Regions from separate parts of the Homo sapiens genome. Here all the other regions are linked to region 3. The links are contacts of gene promoters, found by promoter capture Hi-C in blood cells and fetal thymus (Javierre and others, 2016). All regions are on one chromosome and are shown on one strand. Each heading gives the region's core, a stretch centred on a gene start or on the middle of the fragment in contact. The rest is flanking DNA. Distances are from core to core; before and after follow the strand shown. Region 1 overlaps SERGEF (secretion regulating guanine nucleotide exchange factor). Region 2 holds the start of PIK3C2A (phosphatidylinositol-4-phosphate 3-kinase catalytic subunit type 2 alpha). Region 3 holds the start of MYOD1 (myogenic differentiation 1).

Region 1 (4,561 bases), core at 186-2,685, 280 kb after region 3:
CCACAATGCAGCAGGACCCTTTGAAATATTTCCTAAATGGTTTTTCTCCTAAAGTTAAGTTTCCTCTTATTACAGACCTATTTTAAAAGGCGGAGGGCAGGCTGGGCACAGTGGCTCACACTTGTAATCCCAGTACTTTGGAAGGCCAAGGCGGGAGGATTGCTTGAGGCCAGAAATTCAAGACCAGCCTGGGCAACATAGCGAGACCCTGTCTCTACAAAAAATCTTAAAAATTAGCAGGGCATGGTGGCATGCACCTATAGTTCTAGCTACTCAGGAGGCTGAGGCAGTTAGACAGCTTGGGCTCAGGAGTTCAAGGCTACAGCAAGCTATGATCGAGCCACTGCACTCCAGCCTGGGCAACAGAGTGAGACCCCATCTCTAAAAAGTATTAAAAATAAAAATAAAAAAATAAAGATAAGATGATCACCTGTAGCAGCTACTGCATGCCTCAGTCCAGCAGCAATACAAACAACCTTCTCTTTATGGAGCTGTCAAAATAAAGAAAAGGATTTAGATCTCAGAACCATCCATCTACAAAATTTTATGTAATTTATACCAAATACAATGCAGTACGGTCCTCATTATGGGTCTGACTGGTTTAAAGCAACCACTCCCCCCAATATTTCCACCCATTAATACCTCTACATTTATCCCTAAAAGAAAAAAATATATCTTTTAAAATACCATATCACAATACCATATGACAACAACTCTCAGGGCTGGGAGGCACTTCTAAGGTCATCTAGTCCAAGAGTTAGTAAATGTTTTCTGTAAAGGGACAGTTAGTAAATGTTTTACAGGCCACAGTTTCTGTCACACTACTCAGCTGTGCCATTGTAACATAAAAGCAGCTCTAGACTATACATAAATGAATGAGCATGACTGTGTGCCAGTAAGACTTTATTTACCAAGGGCTCAAAGTTTCCCAACATGATCTAGTCCAATCTCCATCCAACAACACCCCACCAAGTGGTCATCCAACTCCTGCCAAACACCTACCCCCAGTGACATAGGGATCGCCATTTCCCCAGGTGCCTGTTCCATTTTTGCACAGTTCCATTTATCTCTTTAGGTGGAACCAAACCTATCTGCCTGCAGCTTCTGACAATGCTTTCCAAATATTTGAAGACAGTTGTCATGTCCTCTCTAAGACATCTTGTAGTGGTTTTAAAAATAGGTCCTCAAATTCTTGCTACTCCTCCCTTCAAGATGTGGAGCTTAATACCCCTCCCCTTGTGTGGGCTGGACTTAGTGACATGCTTTTAATAAAGAGAATAAAGCAGCAATGAGTGACTCAGAGTCTAGGCGAAAAAAGGCACTAAGGCTTCCTGCTTAGCATCTCTCCCTCTCTCTCTCATCACTCCTGGGGGAAACCAGATGCTATGTCTGAAAAGTCCAATAGAAAGGTCCACATGGCAAGGAACATGAAACCATTAGGGCTTTACCACATTTGTTTATTTACAGGTCCACGGAGATTGCAAGCAGACCCAGCTAACATCTCAACTGTAACTTCATGAGAGACCAGCTAAGCTGTTCCTAAATTCCTGACTCTCCGAAACTGTGACATAATAAATGTTTGCTGTTTTAAGCTGCTAAGGTTTGCAGTAATTTGTTACACAGCAATAGATAACTAATGAAGATCTTTTCTTCAAAGCAAATATCCCCCATTCATCAGCCATCACTGGATTTCAAATTCCCTTCCCCTCCTGGTCTTCACTTCTCTAAATATGCTCTAGTTGTTCAATCTTTCTCTTTTAAAGGAACTCTATAGCATAATCATAACCCCATTAAGGCTTACCACATTTGTTTATTTACAGGTCCACAGTGTCTTTCTAAACTTTAGGACCCTCAAGGGCAGGACCTGAGTCTTATATACCTTTATGCCCAGGGCCTAAGCACCAAATCCACAACAAAACACAACATCCCAGATGCAGGCTGAACAGCAGAAAGGGCTGAGCTTTGGCCTTCCTTCTTCTGGAAACTATACTTCTGTCAATGGAGTCCACAATCACATTAGCTTACGAGAAGATCAAATCTTAGCGTTAATACAATTTGAACATATTGTCCTTTATATTTTTCTTTTGTTTTTCCCCAAAAAACTAACTGAAGGGCTTTACATGTGACTTCAGTCTCTTTAACACCACTCACCTCCACCTCTTACTCTCCATCCCAACTGTTGCTGCTTTAGTTTGAGCCACAATTGTTTCATTTGGATTGTTAGCAAGAGTTTCCTCAGTAACCTTCCTTCAATCCATCTTCCTATCTGACCTCCCTACCATGTTGTTCTTACCATGTGTCACATACAACCACCCTGATTGCCCCATTCCCACCCACTCTACCCTGGAACTTCCACCTCTTCCTTATATTCCAACCATACTAAACTACTTACGATATCCCAAACTCTCCTGTTTCATTCCGTTGCACCTTTGCTTACATGGTTCCTTCTGCCTAGAATGTTCTTCTTTTGCACCCACTCTGAGCATCCTCCTATCCCAAGACGGGTAAACCTCTATTTAACTTTTGAGACCTAGCTTAAGCCTCTTCTCACCCCACCTTCCCCCAGATGCTCAAAACTCCCTCCTTTGGGGATATACATGCATCTGTCATAGTTCTGACATGGTATTACATTTAAGTATTTATGTGCCTATCATGTCCTACCAAACTATAAAACTCTCAACTGCTAGGACAGGTCTTATTCAACTTTGCTCCCACTGCCTAAACATAGTACCTACACATAATGGTTGTCATTAAATAAATGAATGAATTTCTATTAAATTTCTCTTTGGCACATTGCTCCTATTGTTGCATAGAATGTCACCTGTCAAAATGTTTTTACTCTCTGATTCTGTCAACCAACATATTTTAACCATTGTTCCTCTATTCCTTAATTATATAAAGTATAATTAAGCTAAATTAATTATAACTTATATGTAGGTGCTTACAAGGCCATCTATTTGCAATTGGGAGCTATAATACTTCCTTCAGGGACTACAGAGCCTAGACTTTGTGCATACCATGGGAACCATGACCCGAAATAACAGTCCACAGACCAACAACTGAGTTCAGCAAGCTGGCAGGGGCAGACCCAAGCTTTCTCTAGGGAAAAAACATCTCCCACTATTAATCAGAGTTTAGGGAAATTAGATCGGAGTGGGACAGCTTAGGTGGTAAAACTCATTTTTGATTCAAGCATATTTCTTTAAAAATTCTATATTCCTATTATGATCACTTACAATATAAACTTCACAAAAAGGGGTGATTTTAAGTATGATGCACTGAAGTAAAGAGCTCTGAACTAGAGCCAAGAGTCCTGTTTAACACTTGTTTTGTCCAATATGGTAGCCACTACCTACACATAGCTCTTGAAAACTTGAAATGTGATTACACTAAACTGAGACATATTGTAAGTAAAAAATGCATACCAGAGTTCAAAGACTTAGTACAAAATCAGTATAAAATACCTTGTTAATAATTTTTATACTGAATTAGCTGGGAATGGTGCCAGGCACCTGTAATCCCAGCTACTCGGGAGGCCGAGGCAGGGAACTGCTTGAACCTGGGAGGCGGAGGTTGCAGTGAGCCGGGATCGCGCCACTGCACTCCAGCCTGGGCAACAGAGTGAGACTCCATCTCAAAAATAAAAATAAAAACAAAAAATAACTTTATACTGATGACATGCTGAAATAACAGGCAAATCTATAGAGACAAAAAGTAGATTAGTACTCACCAGGGGCTGAGGGGAAGGGAGAATAGGAATTGACTGCTATTAAGTACATAGTTTCTTTTGGTGGTAATGAAAATGTTCTAAAATAAGATAATGATATTGGTTGCTCATCTCTGTGGATATACATTTTAAAGGGGTTAATTTTATGGTATGTGAATTACAGCTCAATAATGCTGTTATTTTAAAAATTACTTTCACCTGTTTCTTTTTTAAATAGGGCTACTAGAAAATTTTAAATTACATATGGCTCACATTATATTTCTACTGGCTAGCACTGGCCTATACCATTTGCCTAGCTTAGTGTCTTTCGACAAATCACTTCTATCTGGACCTATTTCTAACATAATTTCCATTATTACTAATTTTAGAACTGTAAAATGTCATCAATATCCTTATGAGATGTATTACTCTTATTGTTTTATTTCACAAAACTTCATATGAAGTGTATGAAAACTAACAGAGGTTTTCATTCACAACGTTTACCTCCCAACTTAATTTTTCCCAGAAGGACCTATTTTTCAACTCAAATTCTCCTACTCCATGGGTTCTCAGGGATCCTGACAGCCTTTTATTCTGGGGAGAGATAGGTTAATACCTTGGAAACACTTTAACAGGTCATGGGCAAGCTAAATATTAACTGTCCTCACCTCAATGGCCTGGGGAACCACACATCTTCGAGGTCCATGAGGAACTCCTAACTGGCCAAAGGAGTTGGATCCACATGATAGAACTTGACCATTTTCTGCAAAATACAAATACTTAAATTGCAAATCTATGAAGTAAGATGTCTGTGACCAATGGGTAAATGCTGCAGGGTGAGAGATGCAAAGGGGA
Region 2 (4,273 bases), core at 1,080-3,579, 510 kb before region 3:
GCTACAGAAAGAGTCCTGGACATGGGAATTAATGCAAGCAATCTTCAATTAATTGAAAATTTTAGAACTATTAATTGCAGAAGAAACAAACTTAGTATACAGTTATTCATTACAAAAAGTTAGTTTCTAAAATTCCTCAATGCAAACATGCCAGCTTTTGTATTCTATAAAACAGAAAAAACTGCCAGGTGCAGTGGCTCAAGTCTTTAATCCCAGCACTTTGGGAGGCCAAGACGGGCAGATCACTTGAGGTCAGGAGTTCGAGACTAGCCTGGTCAACATAGTGTAAACCAGTCTCTATTGAAAAAACACAAAAATGAGCCATGTGTGGTGGCGCGTGCCTGTAATTCCAGCTACTCAGGAGGCTGAGGCAGGAGAATCACTTGAACCCTGGAGGTGGAGGTTGCAGTGAGCTCTCGTGCCACTGCACTCCAGCCTAGGCGACAGAGCGAGATTCAAACAGAAAAAAATTGTAAAACCTGTGATGAAAACATTAAAACATGTTATTTGCAAAGAAAACTGCAGGAAACACGCATATAAAACACAAATAGCAAGACACTTTGATAAGAAAAAACCTACTTTAGAATGTATTAATTCAGCCAAAATTACGGAATTTATGGAAGAAACTCCATATGTGCTTTCTACCTACGTAAAATCACTTTTGAACTAAATCTGAGTTAACAAATAAAATCTCTCTATTCCCAGTTACATTGTTTTTCAGTATGTAACCACTGTCTTGATACTAAACAAATATCTTATATAAAAATAAAATCTGTATACTTCAACTAGGGTCCTTTCGTCTAATTTGCTGCTGTGAATAAGAGCACCATCCTGTCCAGATAAGGTTAGATCAAATTTAAAAAAAAAAAAAGCACCATTCTGCTGGGCATGGTAGACCAGCCTGGGCGACACAGTGAGACCCCATGTCAATTAAAAAAAAAAAAAAGAGCACCAACCCCAACTATGGCAGAGCTGCTAAAGGAGTCTCTTGTGGAGACTTGAACCACAAGCCAAGGAGGCAAAGGTACAAAGTCTCTCCTGGAATTAGTTCCTGGACTTCTGTGCAGCCTTCCCTCTTTCTACTATGTCTTCACCGTTCCCCTACAAACAGCTTTCTTCTTCTTGCATCTCTTATATGCTGTGGCCTTTGATGCTACAATAGATTTAAAAATTTTCCCAACAGAGCTTTTCTGCCTGAAACCCACCAGGAAAGATTTCAGGACATTCTTTAATAACTAATCTTGTTCAAAGAGGCAGGCCTCCTTCGTTTCACTTAATTCAAACCCCCACTGTTCAAAATAAGAATATAATTATAACCTCAATTTCTATCGGGCCAGTATAGGAAAAGAACTACAACAGGCTCTCTCTTCCACGTTATGTCCAGACTTTTTTCCTTAGTTTCTCCTTCCTCATTTCCCTCCTCAATCCCTCCTCCCCCAAAAAATAATTCCACAGCTAGAGAATGTCGTTTTTAAAGCCAGAAATTCAGTGAGGAAAATAAGTATGTGCCTTTTTCTTCAATTATTTATGATTCCTCCGTCACTCAGGAAGAGTTAAGCTAGTATTTTTTAATCTGACCGCTCTCTCAGAAGGATGATGCGCTAAATACACACTGAAAGAATAGTGTTCCCAAAGCAAGTGGATTCGCGGCTAAAGGCAACGCGGTGGGAGTGGGGGGTCCGGGAAGAAGAAAAAGTATCCTTGGCCCCCAGAGCCAGAGATGGGACAGGAGGTGAAAGAAGGGGCCGTCACTGAGAAGTACAACACACACACTCGCCAGAACTAACAATCTGCCAAGAAAATAGGACCGGCCACTGCGGCTCCAGCCCGGTCCCGCGGGACAAGGCGGGGGAGGGGGGCCGGCGGCCGGGGGGCCTGCCCTCCTTCTGTGGGACAAAACTAACTCCCTGGCGCACCTCCGCTCCCGAGAAGAGGGGCCTGGTGGGGACGCGGGCTCCTCGCACCTCCAGCGCAGCACTTGCTCACGGCCTGGGTGGAAGCAAGGCCCGGAGGGAGGGGGGAGTCGGGCTGGGCAACGCCAAGAGCACGGGATGGAGGGTCAGACGCGGGCACCCAAGGCACTGGGGGCCGCGACAAGAGACCCTTCCAGCCCGGGAACCCCGGGGCCCCTCTCCACCCTTGCAGAGCAGGACCCCGAATATCGTCCCCAGCCGCACCGACCGCTCCTCACCTCAAGCTGCCTGAGCCTCCGCCTCTACCACAACCTGAGCCGCCGAAGCCGCCACAGTCCGAGCCATTTTTCCCCTCAGCTGGCTCAGCCGCCGCCGAAAGCTTCGGCCGACTCCACAGCCAGCCAAGCGCAGCACGTCACTTCCGGACAGGGAAGCACCGCCTTCCCCGCCCGGACTTGTTGCGAATTGGCTGGCGCGGACGGCCTACCTGAGCTGGCGGGCGGGGCTTGGACGCTGCCGGGGTGGCGTGAGCAAGGGAGCTGGGGCGCTGGGGCGCACGGGCCCGGGGGACCAGGGTCTGGCTCTCTCCCGAGGAATGCTGAGCAGGCTCTGGACGCCTCTCCGTGCACACCCCAGACCTGGGGAGGGGAGCTCTCCGGACACCCCAGCTGGCCGCCCCTCGGGCCCTGAGTCCGAAGACCCGCTAAACAGGGCCCGGGCACTGAAGTACCCTATTGTTCTCATCCCCTCTCCCGGGACCCCGCACCCTCCTCCATCTAGGCTGAGGTTCCCAGATTTGTGTCTTGGCCCCTGGCGGCGCCGAGATTACTTTGTGATTGGAAGACTGAAAGGAACAGGCAAGACTTAAACTCGTCCACTCCAACCAGTATTTACCGAGGCCTCACGGTGGGTCAGGTGGTATACGGTGGGTAATTAGTAGCCTATCACGTGGTTTCTGTAAAATGCTTGATAGCACGTAAAACGCTTTCAGGTCGGCGTCTCGTTTCATCCTCACAACAGCCAGGTAAGGAAGATAACCCCCTGATAATAACTCACAGCCAGACGGCTCTTTCTACATTACAAAGTATTTTCACATGCAACCTCCATAATAATATATTCTTATTGAGAATTTAATGAGATTATGCTTGTAAAGCGTTTGGTCCTCACGTGTTAGATCTAAAAATTACGTAACCATGGGAAGATATAGGAAAATTATCCCCATTTACAGATGGGGCTTCTGGGGCACAAAGATGTTAAGGGGAGAGGAACGATTCCATAGCGTTTTACAACAAGATTGTCTTTTAAGCAGTAGGAGAAGGGGGTCCACACCATCCAGACGTTCACAATCTGATGTGGCAGACTGATTTAGGCTGCATTTCTCAGCCTAAACTAAAAATTATCAGCCTATATGATATACGCATAATTAGAAGGCTCTAAGAGAAGTTGAACTTTCAGCAAATAACTGGAAAGAAAGAAATTGGCCTGATTTGGCAGGGACGGGGGTTGGCGAAAGGGGGCTAGGGCAATGGGGAATGTGGAGTGGATGAATCCCTCATAGCGCTGTAATAAACATGCCTGCACCTCCGCAGGGATGGTAAAATTGGATGGAGTTTCTATTCTATGGGGAATTCTAGAAACAAATGTGATTATTTCTTACGGCTGTAGCTACTGGCTGTTGTACACCCCCCCCCCTTCCAACTCCTATCTTTCCCCCAACCCCGCCCCTCCTCTATGCACACACACTTCCAGGCAGGCTACACACTCTAGAAGAATGTCCCTTAGAAATCAACTTAGTTCCGCAGCATTGTTCTGCTTTATCTTCTGATCAAAGGAGGAATTTCTAAAATTGGCAGCAGCTCTTTCACAAGATTAAAAAGGGTGGGGAAAGTGATTTATCTCAGGGTAGCTTCCTAGCTTCTGCTCCAGATCTGAGTGTGCCTTCAGGAAAGAAGGAAGAGGCCTTGGGAGAACACTGAGTCTTCAGGAAAGAGTAACTATTTGTCTGTCTTTTTTTTTTCTTTTGTTTTCTTTCTTTCTTTCTTTCTTTCTTTCTTTCTTTCTTTTTCTTTCTTTCTTTTTCTTTCTCTTTCTTTATTCCTCTCTCCCTCTCTCTCTTTCTTCCTTTCTTTTTTTTTGATCCAGCGAGACAGACTGGATTTTTTCTTCTAATTTTTTTTTTTAATGAAACGTATTTCCCCTGAGTCTCAGCAGCAGAGGGCCCTGGTCCTTGAGTCACTTCCTTGTTGCAGTTCTGAATTCATTATTTTATTATAGCTTTTGAATGACTGATACATGGTAGGCTCTGATCAACCAAAAGGTTCCCAATAAGGTGAAGAGAAAGAAAAGGAGTTTGATAGTTT
Region 3 (3,965 bases), core at 582-3,081:
GCCAGGACTTTGCTGCCTCTGCCAGGATTTAGAGTTACTGTCACTGCTGCTCCATGATGTAGACTTTACTGAATGAACAAATACAGGTGGGCCCTATGGAGTAAAGCGAGGTGAGTACTTCATGAAGGGAGACCTTCAGCACCACTACCAGCAGCAGAGAAGTGAAGAAGTTAGGACCCCAACAGAGCCCTCTGAGTTTTGTGGGAAGGGAGGACTTCTTAGGGCCCAGAACGGCCAGCTAGAATGCCTTCCAGAAGTTAGTGGGAAAGGCACAAAGATCACTCCTGCTTAAATTTCTGGTTTCCAGGAGGGGAGATCCAGGCAGGGATGTATGGCCAACGGAGATTCCTAGCCAGAGTGCTGAGAGGACTGTGTGAACTGCAGATTCAGGAAGAGGCTGAGAGACCCCCATGGGGGTGGCCGGTATGCTGAGGCTTGTATGGGAGCCAGATATCCCACATCCCATGGGGTGGTTGCCTCCTCCTGTTTCCAGCCTTTCCAGTGAGGCTGCAGGAAAGAGACACAGCTAAGGCCTGGAGACTCGTGGCACTCCGTCAGGGCATGGTACCACAGATGAGTTGTAAGCCTGCGGGACACAGCATCCAACTCTGAAAGCCCCTTGCTCGAATAACCCTACATCACCGCCTGAGGGCTTCCATATCCTTGGTCTCTTCAGACTGTCATCCCCACCACAATTACTCCAAGAAATTACTGTCATCCCCAAATCTATAACTGGAAACTGAGGCTCAGGAAGGAGACATGACTTCCACAAAATCACACAGTTGGGAAACTCTGGAGTCTGCACTCAACTGGTCTGCAAACCGCACTCTCGGAGACTTCAGGTGAGATGAGGTCAGGTTCTCAGGCCAGGTCCTGAAGTTTGACACCTTGGCGAAATGCACTTTCCTTGACTCAGCACCGCGAGTGAGGCGGAGCCAAGCCCCGAGCAGAAGGGTTTTCTTCCCAGCTGAAGAGGCAGCTCAGCCTAGACCCCAGGCATGGCACTGGACACCCCTGCTGTGGAAACGTGCAGATTTAGATGGAGGGGATTCCTAACCTGGGCAGGATCCGAGTTTGGAGAGATTGGCGCGAAGCTTTAGCAGCAATCTCCGATTCCTGTACAACCATAGCTGGGTTTCTAAGCGTCTAGGGAAGAAGGACTGGGCCCACGACCTGCTGAGCAACTCCCAGGTCGGGGACTGGCGGAATATCAGAGCCTCTACGACCCGTTTGTCTCGGGCTCGCCCACTTCAACTCTCGGGGTCTCTCCGCCTGTTGTTGCACTCGTGCGTTTCTCTGCCCCTGACGCTCTAAGCTTTCTGCTTTCTGCGTGTCTCTCAGCCTCTTTCGGTCCCTCTTTCACGGTCTCACTCCTCAGCTCTGTGCCCCCAATGCCTTGCCTCTCTCCAAATCTCTCACGACCTGATTTCTACAGCCGCTCTACCCATGGGTCCCCCACAAATCAGGGGACAGAGGAGTATTGAAAGTCAGCTCAGAGGTGAGCGCGCGCAGCCAGCGTTTCCCGCGGATACAGCAGTCGGGTGTTGGAGAGGTTTGGAAAGGGCGTGCCGGAGAGCCAAGTGCAGCCGCCTAGGGCTGCCGGTCGCTCCCTCCCTCCCTGCCCGGTAGGGGACCTAGCGCGCACGCCAGTGTGGAGGGGCGGGCTGGCTGGCCAGTCTGCGGGCCCCTGCGGCCACCCCGGGGACCCCCCCAAGCCCCGCCCCGCAGTGTTCCTATTGGCCTCGGACTCCCCCTCCCCCAGCTGCCCGCCTGGGCTCCGGGGCGTTTAGGCTACTACGGATAAATAGCCCAGGGCGCCTGGCGAGAAGCTAGGGGTGAGGAAGCCCTGGGGCGCTGCCGCCGCTTTCCTTAACCACAAATCAGGCCGGACAGGAGAGGGAGGGGTGGGGGACAGTGGGTGGGCATTCAGACTGCCAGCACTTTGCTATCTACAGCCGGGGCTCCCGAGCGGCAGAAAGTTCCGGCCACTCTCTGCCGCTTGGGTTGGGCGAAGCCAGGACCGTGCCGCGCCACCGCCAGGATATGGAGCTACTGTCGCCACCGCTCCGCGACGTAGACCTGACGGCCCCCGACGGCTCTCTCTGCTCCTTTGCCACAACGGACGACTTCTATGACGACCCGTGTTTCGACTCCCCGGACCTGCGCTTCTTCGAAGACCTGGACCCGCGCCTGATGCACGTGGGCGCGCTCCTGAAACCCGAAGAGCACTCGCACTTCCCCGCGGCGGTGCACCCGGCCCCGGGCGCACGTGAGGACGAGCATGTGCGCGCGCCCAGCGGGCACCACCAGGCGGGCCGCTGCCTACTGTGGGCCTGCAAGGCGTGCAAGCGCAAGACCACCAACGCCGACCGCCGCAAGGCCGCCACCATGCGCGAGCGGCGCCGCCTGAGCAAAGTAAATGAGGCCTTTGAGACACTCAAGCGCTGCACGTCGAGCAATCCAAACCAGCGGTTGCCCAAGGTGGAGATCCTGCGCAACGCCATCCGCTATATCGAGGGCCTGCAGGCTCTGCTGCGCGACCAGGACGCCGCGCCCCCTGGCGCCGCAGCCGCCTTCTATGCGCCGGGCCCGCTGCCCCCGGGCCGCGGCGGCGAGCACTACAGCGGCGACTCCGACGCGTCCAGCCCGCGCTCCAACTGCTCCGACGGCATGGTAAGGCCGGGACCCCAGGAAGTGAGGAAGTTAGGGCGGCGCTCGGGATATCAGGGACGCGTTTCCGAGGGCGGGGAGCTGGCCTTGCGGGAGGTTTGGGCCAGGATCCTTCCCGAGAGAGAGGACCCCCTTGTCCTGGGCAGCTGTCACTGGGGTAGCCTGTTTTGGAAGTGTGCGGGCAAGCGTTCGAGCTGCCCCATTGGGGGCGCTATTAGAACACTGCAGCGCGAACGTGAAGATCTTTTTCTCTACTTATCCCTACTTCCAAAATGTAAATTTGCGCCCCTTGGTGACTGTCCGCCCTTGGTTTGGCCCTGCATGTTGCAGACCTCATCTCCTACCCACCCGTAATTACCCCCCCAACCAGGACAGGTCTGGGCCCGGAACTAGAGCCTTAGGCTAGAGTTAGGGAGGGGGCGGCTACAGGAATTGGTGTTCGGGCCTCGAGCCGTCCCGCGGGCCTGACTCAGTCGCCCTTGCTGTTTGCAGATGGACTACAGCGGCCCCCCGAGCGGCGCCCGGCGGCGGAACTGCTACGAAGGCGCCTACTACAACGAGGCGCCCAGCGGTGGGTATTCCGGGCCTCTCCCTGCTCGCTCCTCCTCCTTCATGGAGCTGTCCTGGCCTCTATCTAGGACGCTCCCACCCCCACTCACACACGCCTATGTCCTGGGAAGTGGTGCAGGAGATGAAATACTAAGCAAGTAGCTCCCTGTCTTTTGGATTGTCCCGGACTCTAACTAAAGTCCTCAGTTTCCAATCTGTCTCAAAGTACTGGGCCCGGGGGTGGGAGGCTTGTCGCGGCCCCACCCCTGCTTACTAACCGAGCCCTCCCCGCGCAGAACCCAGGCCCGGGAAGAGTGCGGCGGTGTCGAGCCTAGACTGCCTGTCCAGCATCGTGGAGCGCATCTCCACCGAGAGCCCTGCGGCGCCCGCCCTCCTGCTGGCGGACGTGCCTTCTGAGTCGCCTCCGCGCAGGCAAGAGGCTGCCGCCCCCAGCGAGGGAGAGAGCAGCGGCGACCCCACCCAGTCACCGGACGCCGCCCCGCAGTGCCCTGCGGGTGCGAACCCCAACCCGATATACCAGGTGCTCTGAGGGGATGGTGGCCGCCCACCCGCCCGAGGGATGGTGCCCCTAGGGTCCCTCGCGCCCAAAAGATTGAACTTAAATGCCCCCCTCCCAACAGCGCTTTAAAAGCGACCTCTCTTGAGGTAGGAGAGGCGGGAGAACTGAAGTTTCCGCCCCCGCCCCACAGGGCAAGGACACAGCGCGGTTTTTTCCACGCAGCACC

The links. Contacts are between HindIII fragments. The CHiCAGO score rates a contact against its expected background, and 5 or more counts as called.
Region 1: a fragment that was not itself captured here is called in contact with the fragment with the promoter of MYOD1 in region 3 in 3 of 17 cell types (M2 macrophages, endothelial precursors and megakaryocytes); the score reaches 6.6 in M2 macrophages.
Region 2: the fragment with the promoter of PIK3C2A here is called in contact with the fragment with the promoter of MYOD1 in region 3 in 3 of 17 cell types (M0 macrophages, M2 macrophages and M1 macrophages); the score reaches 12.2 in M0 macrophages.

The regions. Positions count from the first base shown.
Region 1 is chr11:18,000,067-18,004,627 of GRCh38, forward strand. It overlaps SERGEF (secretion regulating guanine nucleotide exchange factor), which reads right to left. Exons shown (of 11, transcript NM_012139.4): 4 at 4,375-4,469; 5 at 431-491. Among named protein-coding and RNA genes, the nearest start is that of SERGEF, 11 kb to the right of the region's middle. The HindIII fragment of the contact is 3,312 bases long and covers 1-3,091 here.
Region 2 is chr11:17,205,657-17,209,929 of GRCh38, forward strand. PIK3C2A (phosphatidylinositol-4-phosphate 3-kinase catalytic subunit type 2 alpha) reads right to left here and starts at 2,330. Exons shown (of 33, transcript NM_002645.4): 1 at 2,192-2,330. RefSeq lists enhancers at 1,597-2,120, 2,121-2,643, 2,149-2,258 and silencers at 1,789-2,048, 2,399-2,478. The HindIII fragment of the contact is 7,601 bases long and covers 2,291-4,273 here.
Region 3 is chr11:17,717,740-17,721,704 of GRCh38, forward strand. It overlaps MYOD1 (myogenic differentiation 1), which reads left to right and starts at 1,832. Exons shown (of 3, transcript NM_002478.5): 1 at 1,832-2,673; 2 at 3,163-3,241; 3 at 3,516-3,965. The coding sequence starts at 2,044. The coding sequence ends at 3,769. RefSeq lists enhancers at 2,781-3,292, 3,293-3,804. The HindIII fragment of the contact is 6,670 bases long and covers 1,314-3,965 here.